2 separate regions of the Homo sapiens genome follow, and region 2 is linked to region 1. The links are contacts of gene promoters, found by promoter capture Hi-C in human tissues and cell types (Jung and others, 2019). All regions are on one chromosome and are shown on one strand. Each heading gives the region's core, a stretch centred on a gene start or on the middle of the fragment in contact. The rest is flanking DNA. Distances are from core to core; before and after follow the strand shown.

The links. The method cuts DNA at HindIII sites, captures the fragments that hold promoters and counts their contacts. A contact is called where the count stands out against the background at its distance.
Region 2: a fragment that was not itself captured here is called in contact with the fragment with the promoter of SYT8 in region 1 in 2 of the 25 tissues and cell types used here (H1 embryonic stem cells and lymphoblastoid cells).

Annotation. Positions count from the first base shown.
Region 1 is chr11:1,832,485-1,836,239 of GRCh38, reverse strand. It overlaps SYT8 (synaptotagmin 8), which reads right to left and starts at 1,250. Exons shown (of 8, transcript NM_001394072.1): 1 at 1,041-1,250; 2 at 781-944; 3 at 256-354; 4 at 1-114. The coding sequence starts at 1,134. RefSeq lists enhancers at 2,060-2,673, 2,674-3,289 and silencers at 3,392-3,451, 3,512-3,721. The HindIII fragment of the contact is 28,273 bases long and covers 1-3,755 here.
Region 2 is chr11:2,100,488-2,108,330 of GRCh38, reverse strand. No RefSeq gene overlaps it. Among named protein-coding and RNA genes, the nearest start is that of MIR483, 30 kb to the left of the region's middle. RefSeq lists an enhancer at 7,216-7,843. The HindIII fragment of the contact is 7,700 bases long and covers 662-7,843 here.

The sequences.
Region 1 (3,755 bases), core at 1-2,500:
GTGCACTTTTGTCTCATGTCTGTGTCCGGCCTGGGTGGAGACGCTGACCCGGGCATAGGGGTCCACGGTGCCCCCAGGCCTCAGGTCGGCTGCCTGCCTCAGGCCCACCCTGATCTGGGAGCCAGCGGGGTGGGCTCAGCCAAGGGCCCCTGCCCTGTCAGCTCCCCACCACCCAGGGCATGGGGTCTGCCCTTCCCCCGTCACCCTTTCCGGAAACTCGCAGAACCGCTGGTCCTGCGCAGCGGGGCCCTTCACCTCCTGGCTTCCAAAGTCGAACTCCAGGGAGAGCTGCAGGCACCCCCATTGCTGAGCATCCCCCGGGCTGGACTCCAGGCCATCCACATCAGGTTGCACCTGGAGTGAGTTGGGACAAGGGGCAGGTGGTGCTGACATCATGCCTCATCAGAGCCCTGGGCTCCCGGGCAGCCCTTGCATGACATGGGTCAAGACCCCCCGCCTCCAGGCCAGGCCACCCAACAGGCACAAATCGTCGGCTTCGCTCTGTGAGACCGGCCAAACCCACCCAAAACGTGGCATCTGGGGTACCCCCTGCCTTCCTCAAGAACCCGCTGTGGCTCCCTCGGGCCCATGGGGCAGCCCCTGTTGCATGGCCTCCTTCTCACCTCTGTTCACCCACTTTCCCTGCCAGGAAGGTCCTCAACGCCCTGCCTCTGTGGGGGTTAAACCATCCCTGGGGCTGAACTCGCCTCGCTGCCCTGGGCTCTGGAGCCTGGATTTCAAGCCCTCTCTGGACTGAGTGAGCAAGGAGCCGCTCCTCACCAGGTGGGTGGTGGTGGTGCCGCGGGCACTGCCCAGACCCACGGACTCCTTGTCCCTGGGCTTCTTCCTGTGGCGGCGGCAGCAGCAGCAGGCAGCACAGAGGAGGCAGGAGACGAGGAGGACGCCCGCGGCAAGGGCGCCGGCAATGAGAGCCCAGCGGGGCCCTGGGGTAGAGGCCAGGCTGAGTGCATCTGTGGACAGCTGCAGCCCCCACTTGGCTGGGTTATCCCCACACCCCTCTTGGGAATCCCACAACTCACAGGGGGTCCCGGCGACAAGGTCTGGAATAAGCCCAGGTATAGCTGTGGTGCCAGCTGGGGCCGGGGCACTGGGAGAGACTGGTGGGTGCCCCATCTTTCTACCCTGCTGGTTTGGAAGAAGCGGCCCAGGAGGCTGGGTCAGCTGGGAGGGTGGCCCCTCCGGCCCCTGCCCGCTACCCCATCTGACTAGCAGCAGCCAGTGCTGGGTCTGCCAGGGCAAGGAGGCAGCACGGGGTGGCCAGGGGCGAGGGTTCTGTGCAGCAGGAAGCTGAAGGGAGGGAGGCTCTGGACCCTGGCCAAAGCTCCAGCTTAGCTGCCCAGGCCCAGCCTCCCAGCCACCTCCCAGCAGCCCCCAGCCCCAGCCAAGCAGGCAGGGCCTGGGCAGCCTAGTCCCTGCCTTCACCGGACCTCAGAGCACCCTTGCCCCCACTGTAGGATGCGTCCTCCACCAGGAAGCTCTCTCCCTCCCTGCTTCTCTCTCCTGGGCCCTGGACCCTGGGCCCTGCCTGGGGGTCCCATCTCATCCCTGGGGGTCTCATCTCTGCGGTCCCATCACTTCCTTGCCTCTACCCCAGCACGCACCACAGCTGGGGCCCACCATGGTTTGCCAGCCATGCAGGTGGAGCATGTTCACTGCAGCCCCCAGGAACTTGGAAGCCCAGAGGGGTCTGCAGGGTCATGGCGGGAGGAGCAGGGCTGGCTGTCGGCGGAGCTCACTGAGCAGGCCTGGGCTAAAGGTGCATTCCTGGCAGGGGCTCAGGGCCGCAGCGCCTGAGGATGAAGGTGAGGTGGTGGCAGGTAGGGGCAGGGTGCAGCTGGGAGCGGCCAGAACATTCCACACACACTGACTCAGCCGCTGCCTGGACTCGTCCACCTGCCTGCCTGGCCACCCTTCGGCATGTGGGTGGGAAGGAAGGTGGGGCGGGCGCAGCTGCTGGCCCCTGTACCCGCCTGCCTAGGGCCTGGGGAGGGAGCACACCTGGCTGGGCTGGCTCCTGTCACCTACAGGCAGGGGAACCAGGGTGCTACATGGGGCCTACGGTGACCCCAGGCCCAGGGTGACTCCCCAGCTCAGCTCTTCCCTGACTCCACCCGCTCCAGAGAGCAGCAGCCAGCCAGGAGACTCTGTTCCTCCACATTGGCGCCTCCCCTGCTTTGCCCACAAGAGCCTGGGACCCCTCTTGCCATGTCCAAGTCAGCCTGGCCTCAGGGGCCCAGCCCAGGCCATCCCATCGGGAATAAGCAGCTGTTGAGGCCAGATACCCTCACCTCTGCAGCCCCCCAGTCTGGGGCAGAGCAAGGAGACAGACAGAAAGGGACCCTGCCATGACTCCAGACACACACACACACACACACACACACACACACACACACACACACACACGCACGCGCACACAGCATCAATGCCCCACTCCCTGGCAGGCTGGGAGAGGCAGCTGCACTCCCAGAACGGACCCAAACCCCCAGTGTTCAGATGAGGGGGCTGCAGCTCAAGGAGGGGAGGGAGGGTCCAGGTTCCAGCCCCACACGCATGTTGACCCTGTGAGGTCAGCAGGCCAGGTGTTTTACAGACGAGTGGACCGAGGCTGGGAGCTCTAGTTTTGTGGCTCTGGAGGCCAGCATGGCCTGGGAAGCCCAGCCTGTCCCCAGAACACAGGGGCCAGCACAATGGAGGGATTATAGGTACAAAAAGGAGATGCGGAGGTCAGGGCCAGCTTTCCAGGCTGCACCCTGTGCGCAGGGCCCCATGCTCAGAGGGGTCCCTGCTTGGTTTAATGCGTGCTGGGGCCATCTTGAAATTCTTAATTTTGGAACAAGATGCTGCACATTTTCATTCTGCACTGGGCCTCACAAATGACGGAGCTTGTCGAGTTCGGGGGACCCTTTGGGTGAGTCCCCTGCAGATGCAGTGTGGGTGTGCAGTGAAGCTCACGGGCCTCGGCAGCCCCTCAGCTCCTGGGGGACACTCCCAGGTGGGTCCGGCGTCCCACACGTGGCTGGCGGAGCGCTCCTACTGGTGGTGGCTGATGGAATGGGCTGGGTCCGCAGGGTCCCTGGAGCGGGACTGTGCCGGCCAGATTCAAACAGGCCACTGCCTCCTCCCTACGTGGAGTTTCAAGGCAACTTCTCTTTTTGAAATGTCAGAGCCTGTATACATGCTGAGATTAAAGTAGCTTCACTCCAGATTTTTATGGTTGAGATTCCGGATAAGTTGCCAATACAGAATCTCCATCTGTGAGTGCGGGCATGTGTGCGTGTGCGTGTGCGTGCGCCCCTCCCCTGTGCCCCCGCTTTGCTGGCGTCCCCCCTCCTTTAGTCTAAGAACAGTCAGGGCCGGGCGGGGAGAGCTCCCCTGCAGTGATTTGCCGCGGCCGGCCAGCGGCACTCCCGGGCCAGCCTGGTGACCTTGTCCCCAGAGGAGCACAGGGGCCACCCAGAAGCTGCTCCGGAGAACCCCAGGACCCTGGGGGCGCTGGCTGCCGATGCTGGGGGTCCCAAAGCCTGGGGAGGTGCGGGGTCCCTCCGGACCGCCGGGACCCCAGGGAGGTGCAGGTGCAGCGGGCGCATGGCCACCAGGTGGCGCCGTCCGCCCCTCGGGACCCGGCCTCCCTCATGGCTCCCGGGGACAGTGCCCTGGAGACCCTTGGGCGCTGGGGGCTCTCGGGTCTCCCCTCCCAGATCTGGGAATCCCCCGCCCTCCCTGCCTGAGCCTCC
Region 2 (7,843 bases), core at 3,262-5,761, 270 kb before region 1:
AGGTCATAATTGACACTGCAGCATCCTTCTTCTTCCCCCACCTCTCTCCCTTCACTCCCTCTGGGGAAAGCTGGCTGCCATGTTGTGAGGATGCGCAAACCTCAGAGGTTTGTGTGGAAGGACTGAGCATCCCTCCGACAGCCACACTAGGTTGCCAGGCATGAAGGGGACACTTCAGTCCAGCAGGACCTTCAGATGGCTGGGGCCCAGGGCTGGTGGCTTGGCTTGGGGTGTCAGGGGGTGGCAGCCAAGCCAAGCCACAACCACCAGGCTAAGCTGCTCCTGTACTCCTGACCCACAGAAACTGAGATGATAAATATCCATCACTTTAAGTCTTTATTGTTTTAAGTTTTGGACTAATTTATTCTGCAGCCATAGGCAACGAACACCGTCTTCTGGCAGGGGTGAAATAGATGCAACTAGACCAGAGGGGACAAGGCTGGTGCAAGGAAGGCTTGTAAGGACGGAGAGTTGGAGGGGAGCTCAGGAGTCCTGGCCTTGGGTCTGGCCTGGCTCTGAGGCTCAGCAGCTGTGAGCGCTGGACAAGTCTGCCTCCCACCCAGATTAGCCTGGGTGATGAGTGTGGTGTGTGGCAGAGGCGAATAGCCTATGATCACACAGGGAGGACCAGTGTGAGTCACACAAGGGACAGCAATCAAGGGTGACATTGGAGGAACTTGGCTTGTGGTATGGGTACAGGGGACACCAGGGAAGCCTGCAGATGGCTCAGAGTGGCCAAGTCCCCAGAGCAGGCACAGAGGAACAAATCAGAGCATGGCTCAAAACAACGGGCAGCCAGCACCTGCACAGTCCAGCTGGGTACATCTCTTTTTGCCCTTTCAACACCTGGGGCCCAGCAGTTGTTCTCAGGTCAGTGTGAGTGGTCTGGGAAGACAGCTGCCCACCTGGGCCTTTCCACTTGGCTACGTTCCTGGCTGGCATTCAGAGAAAGGGCATCCACCCATCCATTCATCCATCCATGCATCTATCCATCCATTTATCCAGGCATCTATCCATTCATTCATCCACCCACCATCCACCCATCCATTTATACACCCAGTCATTATCCATGTATTCATCTATCCATCCATCCTTTCTTCCATCCATCCATCCAAGCATCTATTCACTCACTCCTACATGTATCCATTTATCCATCCATCTATCCATCCATCCATGCATGCATCCACCCATTCATACACCCACTCATTCATCCATGTATTTATCTATCTATCCACCCATCCATGTATCCACCCCTCTATGCATCTATTCATCCATCCATTCACCCACTCATTCATACATCCACTCATTCACCCATGTATCTATCTATCTATCCATCCATCCATCCATGCATCCACCCATCTATGCATCTATTCATCCGTCCATTCACCCACCTATTCATACACCCACTTATTTATCCATATATCTATCTTCCATCCATCCATGCATCCACCCATCCATGCATCCACCCACCCATTCATCCATCCATCCATCCACCCACTCATTTGTTCATGTATCCATCCACCCATCCATCCTTCCTTCCATCCATGCATGCATCCATCCATCCATCCATGCACCCATCCATGCATCCATCCATCTTCCTTTCCTTCCTTCCTTCCTTCCTTCCTTCCTTCCTTACTTCCATGAATCCATGCATCCACTTATCCATCCATCCATCTGTTCATCCATCCATCTGTTCATCCACCCATCCATGCACCCATCCATGCACCCATCCATGCACCCATCTGTGCACCCATTCATCCTCCCTCCCTCCCTTCTTCTCTTCCTTCCTTCTTTCCTTCCTTCCTTCCTTCTTTCCTCTTGCCCTCCCTCCCTCTCTTCCTTCCTTCCTTCCTTCCTTCCATGGATCCATGCATCCACCCACGCATCCAGCCATCTACCCAGCCAACCATTTACCCATCTACATACCTTTCTAGCCCCCACCACATACTCACATGGACATCTGGGGGAGAGCATCTCATGGCAGGAGCAGCGGGTACAAGGCTTGTAGAGAGGTGATGTGGCGTCTCTGAGGAGTGGTGGATAGGGAGGAAGCATGGGTTGTTGAGAAACACACCTGAGAAACCAAGGGGAGCTTGCCCAGGAAGGCATCAGGAAGCCCTGAAGGGGATGCAGCTTTTTCTTGGAGAGAAGTGGGGCTAGTGGAGGTCTCTGCTTAGGAGTGAAGGGATCCTGTGGCTGCTGAGTGACCAGAGTGCAAGAGGAGAAGTGGAGGCACCTGCTGGGATACACACAGAAGGGAGTGACTGGGAGGGACTGGTGGAGGAGTGAGGGTGGTTGCACCCTGGTGTGTGCTGAGGGCAGAGTGAGAGCCTTTGCTGAGGGCCTAGAGGAGTGAAGAGCCCAGAAGGCCCCTGGGAAGGATGGCATCACCTGACAGAGAAGAGGAGAGGCAGAAAGGTACATTTGGAGTTTCAGGGCTAGGCGGTCATGTCCACAGAGGCCGGGGACATCCGTGAGAGGGGAATAATGGACAGACAGCACCTGCCAGGTCATGTTGCCAAGAGGCCCCTGGCCAGGAGCTCAGACCAGCCTGGGCAAGTGGTCAGGTCCTGGCTGCTGGCTGTGGCCTTCGTCCTGCTGGCCTCTCAGATGTCACAGGGAGCTCTCGGAGCCTCTTGAGCTGTCCCCCAATGGGCTGCTACCTGGCTCCGAGGCCTGGTCCCAGCCCCACAGCCCCAACTTGGTGTTCCTTCAGGGCAGAGACAGATGGGACAGGGGTCAGTGAGGGGAGGAGAGTTCTCAGGAGGCGGTGCTTGGGCTGGGCCTGGGGAGGGAAGCTCCAGGGTGCTCCTGGGGCAGCAGGGTGAACCAGCTCTGACGTTTTCTGTATTAAGGAGCATCTGAGAAGGGAGAGAACAAACGCTTCGCTTTTCCACATCAGGCACAACATGATCGGTCATCCGTTTTCATTCCGGGATCTGGAAAACAGCTGATTCTGGAAAGCTACAACTTCCCTAGGTGCAGAGCTCTGTGGAGAAGGGCTCCCGCAGGGCTGGGGGTGGGAGCTCAGGCCCCAGGCACTCCAGAGCTGGCTCAGGAAAGGGTAAGGCTCAGACTGGGCCTGGAGGGAAGAGCCCACCAAGGAGGAACCAGTCTCCACCCCCTGCCTCTGGCCAGGTTTCTATAGCACTGGTGACCAGGACACTCGAGCCTCTGGGACCTCAGTGGGCTAATCCGGGACTAATCCTAGCAACAGGCTGGGCCTGCAGCCACATGATGGCCGAGGGTTGCTGAGCATGCACCCATGACCCTTCCCAGGGGCCTGGCCACAGTGCCTGGTTTCCCTCTGTGCCCTGGCATTGAGTGGAGTTGGCTCCAGGAGCAAGGCCCCCTGGGCCTTTGGTCCCTTTCCTGGGCCCAGCTCTGGGCCACTGGGGTCCCCATGGCTGCCCTCACCTGGGGGTTGGCAGGATCAGCGGAAATTAACAGGTGAGGGAGGCCTCATGCATGAAGCACGGCTTCCTGCTGGGAGCGGTGGAAACCTGGGGATTTCGGGGCGGGCTCAGGGATCCTGATACACTCACTTGGGGCCCTGGGCTGGGGCAAGGCAACATGGTGAGTCTTCTGGGCCACTGGAACCGTGAGGAAGGACAAAGCTCTGGAGGCCTTGACCAAGGAGGCCTGCTGCGCGTGTGTGTATATGAATGTGTGTTTGCATGTGTGGGCGTGCGTGTGTATATGAATGTGTGTTTGCATGTGTGGGCATGTGTGTATATGAATGTGTGTTTGTGTGTGTGGGCGTGTGTGTATATGAATGTGTGTTTGCATGTGTGGGCATGTGTGTGTATGCATGTGTGTCTGTGCGTGCATGTGTGTACCCCTGTGTGTGTGTGTGCGCACTCCGGCACGGGAGGGGGTTGTGCCCCTGCCTCCGCGCCCCAGAAGCTCTGGTTCCATCTGTGTTCTTGCTTTTCATCAGTCAGCCATCATTTGTTAATTCATTCATTCACCCATCATTCATTCAGCAATGGTCAGGAGGAGCCAGGAAGCACCCTTGTCCGTGCTGACCCAGGCTGTGGGTCTGTTGTGTTGGCCTCAGCAGTGTCTGGGCATCAGCAGGTGAAAGGGTGCCTGAGTGTCAGTGTGGGAGCGGCCTCCACTGAGAACCACAGCTCCCCGGGAGTACCCTGAGCGGCAGCGCTCTGTTCCCTGCTCTGCCATCTCCTGGACCCATGCCCTTCCTAGCTGCTGGATCAGCCTCTGCCCAGGTTGGGCTGCAGGTGCTGGGTCCAGGCCTCCCCGGGGTGCCCCTCGTCAGGGGTTGCAGGCAGCCCCTGCGACCATGGCTGGAGCTGGGCTGACCCGGGCTCAAACTCCTGACTCTTGTGCCACTTACTGTGTGTCTGCGGGAAAGCCACTTAATGGAGACTCATCCTCAGTCTCCTTGTCTGGAACAGCGACAGTCCTGACTCCTTCAGGGTTTCGAAGGTGATGCTTGTGGAACACGCTACTGGCACCTGGCCATGGAGGGCGTGAGGGACGGCCACTGTCACTACCCAGATTTTCCCTGGGCCAGCAGTGTGGGAGCAGATGGGATTTGGAGTGGAGCACGCACAGGACGGCCCTCGTTCATTTTGAGTCCACACAGGCCTGTGTCCCCAGTTCCCGGCCCTGCCCCTGCTCTGTACTGCAGCACCCCTACCCTCAGAAGAGACCCCTTATTTCCATGTGGAAAGCGCTCTTTGGGCTCTAAGTGGCTTCCCAGGAGGGCAGAGCCCCTGGAGCCATCTCTGGGTTTCCAGGAAGCCCACTGGGAGGGTGGTGGATGGTGTCTCCAGGGCCGTGGAACACTCTGGCTACCCTTAGCACGAGAGGGGGAGATTCTCTGGTTTTCAGCTTGTCCTTCTGTTCCAGGGACAGCTCTGTGGGAGAGGCTCTCTCCTGCCAATGCAGGAGACAGAGCTGGAGCAGAGGAGAGCCCCTGCTTAGGCCTAAGAGCCCCAGCTTGGTCACTGAAACTGGGAGCCACGGTTGGGTTGGAAAGTCTGGTCCTCCGTGCCCTGGCAAGGGCAGACTTGGTTTTCCTTCCTACTCTACTCTTCCAGTCTCCTCCTCTGCCAGACTGGCCATGGTGGGTCAGAGAGAGGGGCAAGGAAAGGGAAGTGGGGGGACAGAGCAGGATGACCATAAGGAAGAGGACACAGGAGAGAGAAGGGGATGCAGGGCCTTCCAACTATGGACTTGAAGAAGAAAGACGAAAACAAGAAACCAAAGTCATGTCTTGGCCAACAAACCCCCAGCTCCTATCTCCCTACAGAAAGAAGCTTGGGGGAAACTGGCTCCAGGAGCCTTGGCTGCAGGGAAGGCAGCATTTCCACGACTGAGCCTTTTGCAAACTATGTGGGTCCTGCTCTTTTTGGCCCTCCTGCTCCAGCCCCCAGCTCCCTGCATCCAGCTCTGAGGGCCCCAGAGCCCCATCAGATGTGGAGGGAGCTTGGGTGGAGCAGGGTGGAGGTGCGGCAAAGATCAGGCCAGGCCTCATTGTTTAGAAAAGAAGGAACTGACTTCAGCTCCGGGAGCAGGGCCTCCCACCCCACCCGGACTTCCTGCTCCCTGGGCCTGCCAGTGCGGACTTTGTCCACCTTATTTGGGGATTGAGAAGCCACACTGCTCTATGGCCCTGGGGGTCATGGCAGAGAACCAGAGACTCACAGAGTGGAGGGTGCCTGGCAATCATTCTCCATGATTCAAGGTTACAACACCTTAGCCAAAGAAAGTGCTATTTGAGGATCCATTCATTCCTCCATCCAACTGTTCATCCACCCTTCCATCTACCCACCTGCTCTTCATTCATCCACCTACTTATTCATACGTCTACATTCATCCTCATGTCTCCACATCCCCCACTCACCCATCCATTCATCCTTTCCTCTACCCACTCATCCTTTCATCCGTCCATCCATCCATCCATCCTAATCATCCATCCATCTCAACCATCCATTCATCCATTCACACACCACCTTCCCATCCACTCATCCACCCATCCATCCCACACATCCTTCCACTCACCTACATATTCACTCATCCATCCATCCATCCATTCCAACCTCCATCCATTCACCCACCTACCCATCCATCGATCATCCATCCATCCATCCATTTATCCATCCATCCATCCATCCATCCATCCGCTCACCCATCCATCCATCAATTCACCCACCCATCTATCCACCCACCTATCTACCACCCTTTCCACCACAATTCTATATCATCCAGGTTTGATAATTGGAAGCCCATTGCTAAGAAAACTTCTTGAACAAGTTCTTTGGCTAAGAAACAAGAGGCTGCCTCAATTTACCCACTGCATCTGTGTCTTATGGATTTGAAGTCATCATAAGTCACATCTAAGACCAGGACCAGGACCTGAGACTGTCCTTTCAGGACCTTTTATTTTCCACAATGACAGTGACAGACACACACAGGGAGCACTAAGGCTGGGGTCCCAGTGGACGTCAGTGTGGGGAAGAGTCTCTCCTGGCTCTGTGTGGCCTTTGAAAGACACCTCATTCCTTTGGTCTAGGCTTCTCTGTAAAATGGGCTGCCAAGATGGTTGTGCGGGTCGATGGAGAGAAGTAATCTGCCTGTCTTTGAATCATTGCCTCCAGGTGAAGGTCTCCCCTCTTTCTAACTCTAATCTAAAAACCCATGAGGTTGAAATCCTCAAGCCCCAAGCGACACCTGTGAAACGGCCCAAGAGAAGCGTGCCATGAGGCAGCAGGAAGGGCATTCCAGGAGGAGGGAACAGAGGTGAGAGAGACGCCCTGACATTTGGGGACCCAGCAGGGAGTTTGGCCTGGCTGTCACTGGAATGGCAGCACAGGTGGCTGGAGAGGAAAGAGGGGCCAGGCTGAAGGATCAGATGCCCCTGGGAACACACAGGAGCTGTGGGGTGGGCCAGGTGGGGTTCCTGAGGGAGGGGCACAGGTGGGCCAGCTGGCCGAGAAGAAGCTTCCTCTGCAGGGTGGCGAGTAGAAAGGGGAGTGAGCCCCACCTGCATGGCTGCCGAGGGGTCCAGTGAGGGAAGGTGGTGAGTCCAGGGACCCAGCTTCAAGTGCCACACGGGTCCCGCTTGGCCATGCTGGATGGGAAGGGTTCTCCTCTGGTACACTGTGTCTGGAGGCCCCGGGTCTTCCTCCCTTGGCCTGGCAGGGTGGTCCCTCCCGCTGCTCGGCTCTGTACTAGGCTTGATCCCCTGTCTTGGGTACAGTCCTGCCCCAACCTCCCCAGGCATCCAGTCCCTCCTGTCCTGCCCCATGGAGTCTGCAAACCCAATGCCCTTGGCTTCTCCCTGCCTCCAGCTTCCGTCCTTCAGCCCGTGCCAGGGGCCTGCCCGGGAGGTCTCTTGTCACCAGTCCCCAGTGCCAGTCTCCCACTCAGCAACTGTGGGGCACCTGGAAGGACCTGTGAAATAAACCCCTGAACCCTGGCCCAAAGCCACTGCCCCCCAAAACCTGGACTCAGGGAGCTCAGCAGAGCATGCAGGACTGCAACCGGCCTGGGCTGTCCACTTGTCCTGCGGGCTTTGGGCTGGGGAAGGGCAGACGGAGGGGCAGGGCCAGGCCAGCCTAGGAGGCCCCGGGGTGCAGAGTGGGGCCTGGTTGCATCAGGGAACCCAGGGGCTCTGGTCCCCTGGGCCCAGCAAGCTTGAGATGGGCCTGGGCACCTCCCTCTCTGCACTGGGCGGGCTTCCTGCCTGGCCCCGGGAAGTGGCCCCCCTGCACCTCCCGCAGACAGGTGACGTCAGCGTCTGAGATAACAAGGCGGCCCTGCCGGCGTCTGCCCCAGCGTATGCCCACTGTAATCTGGGCTGTCTGGGCACAGG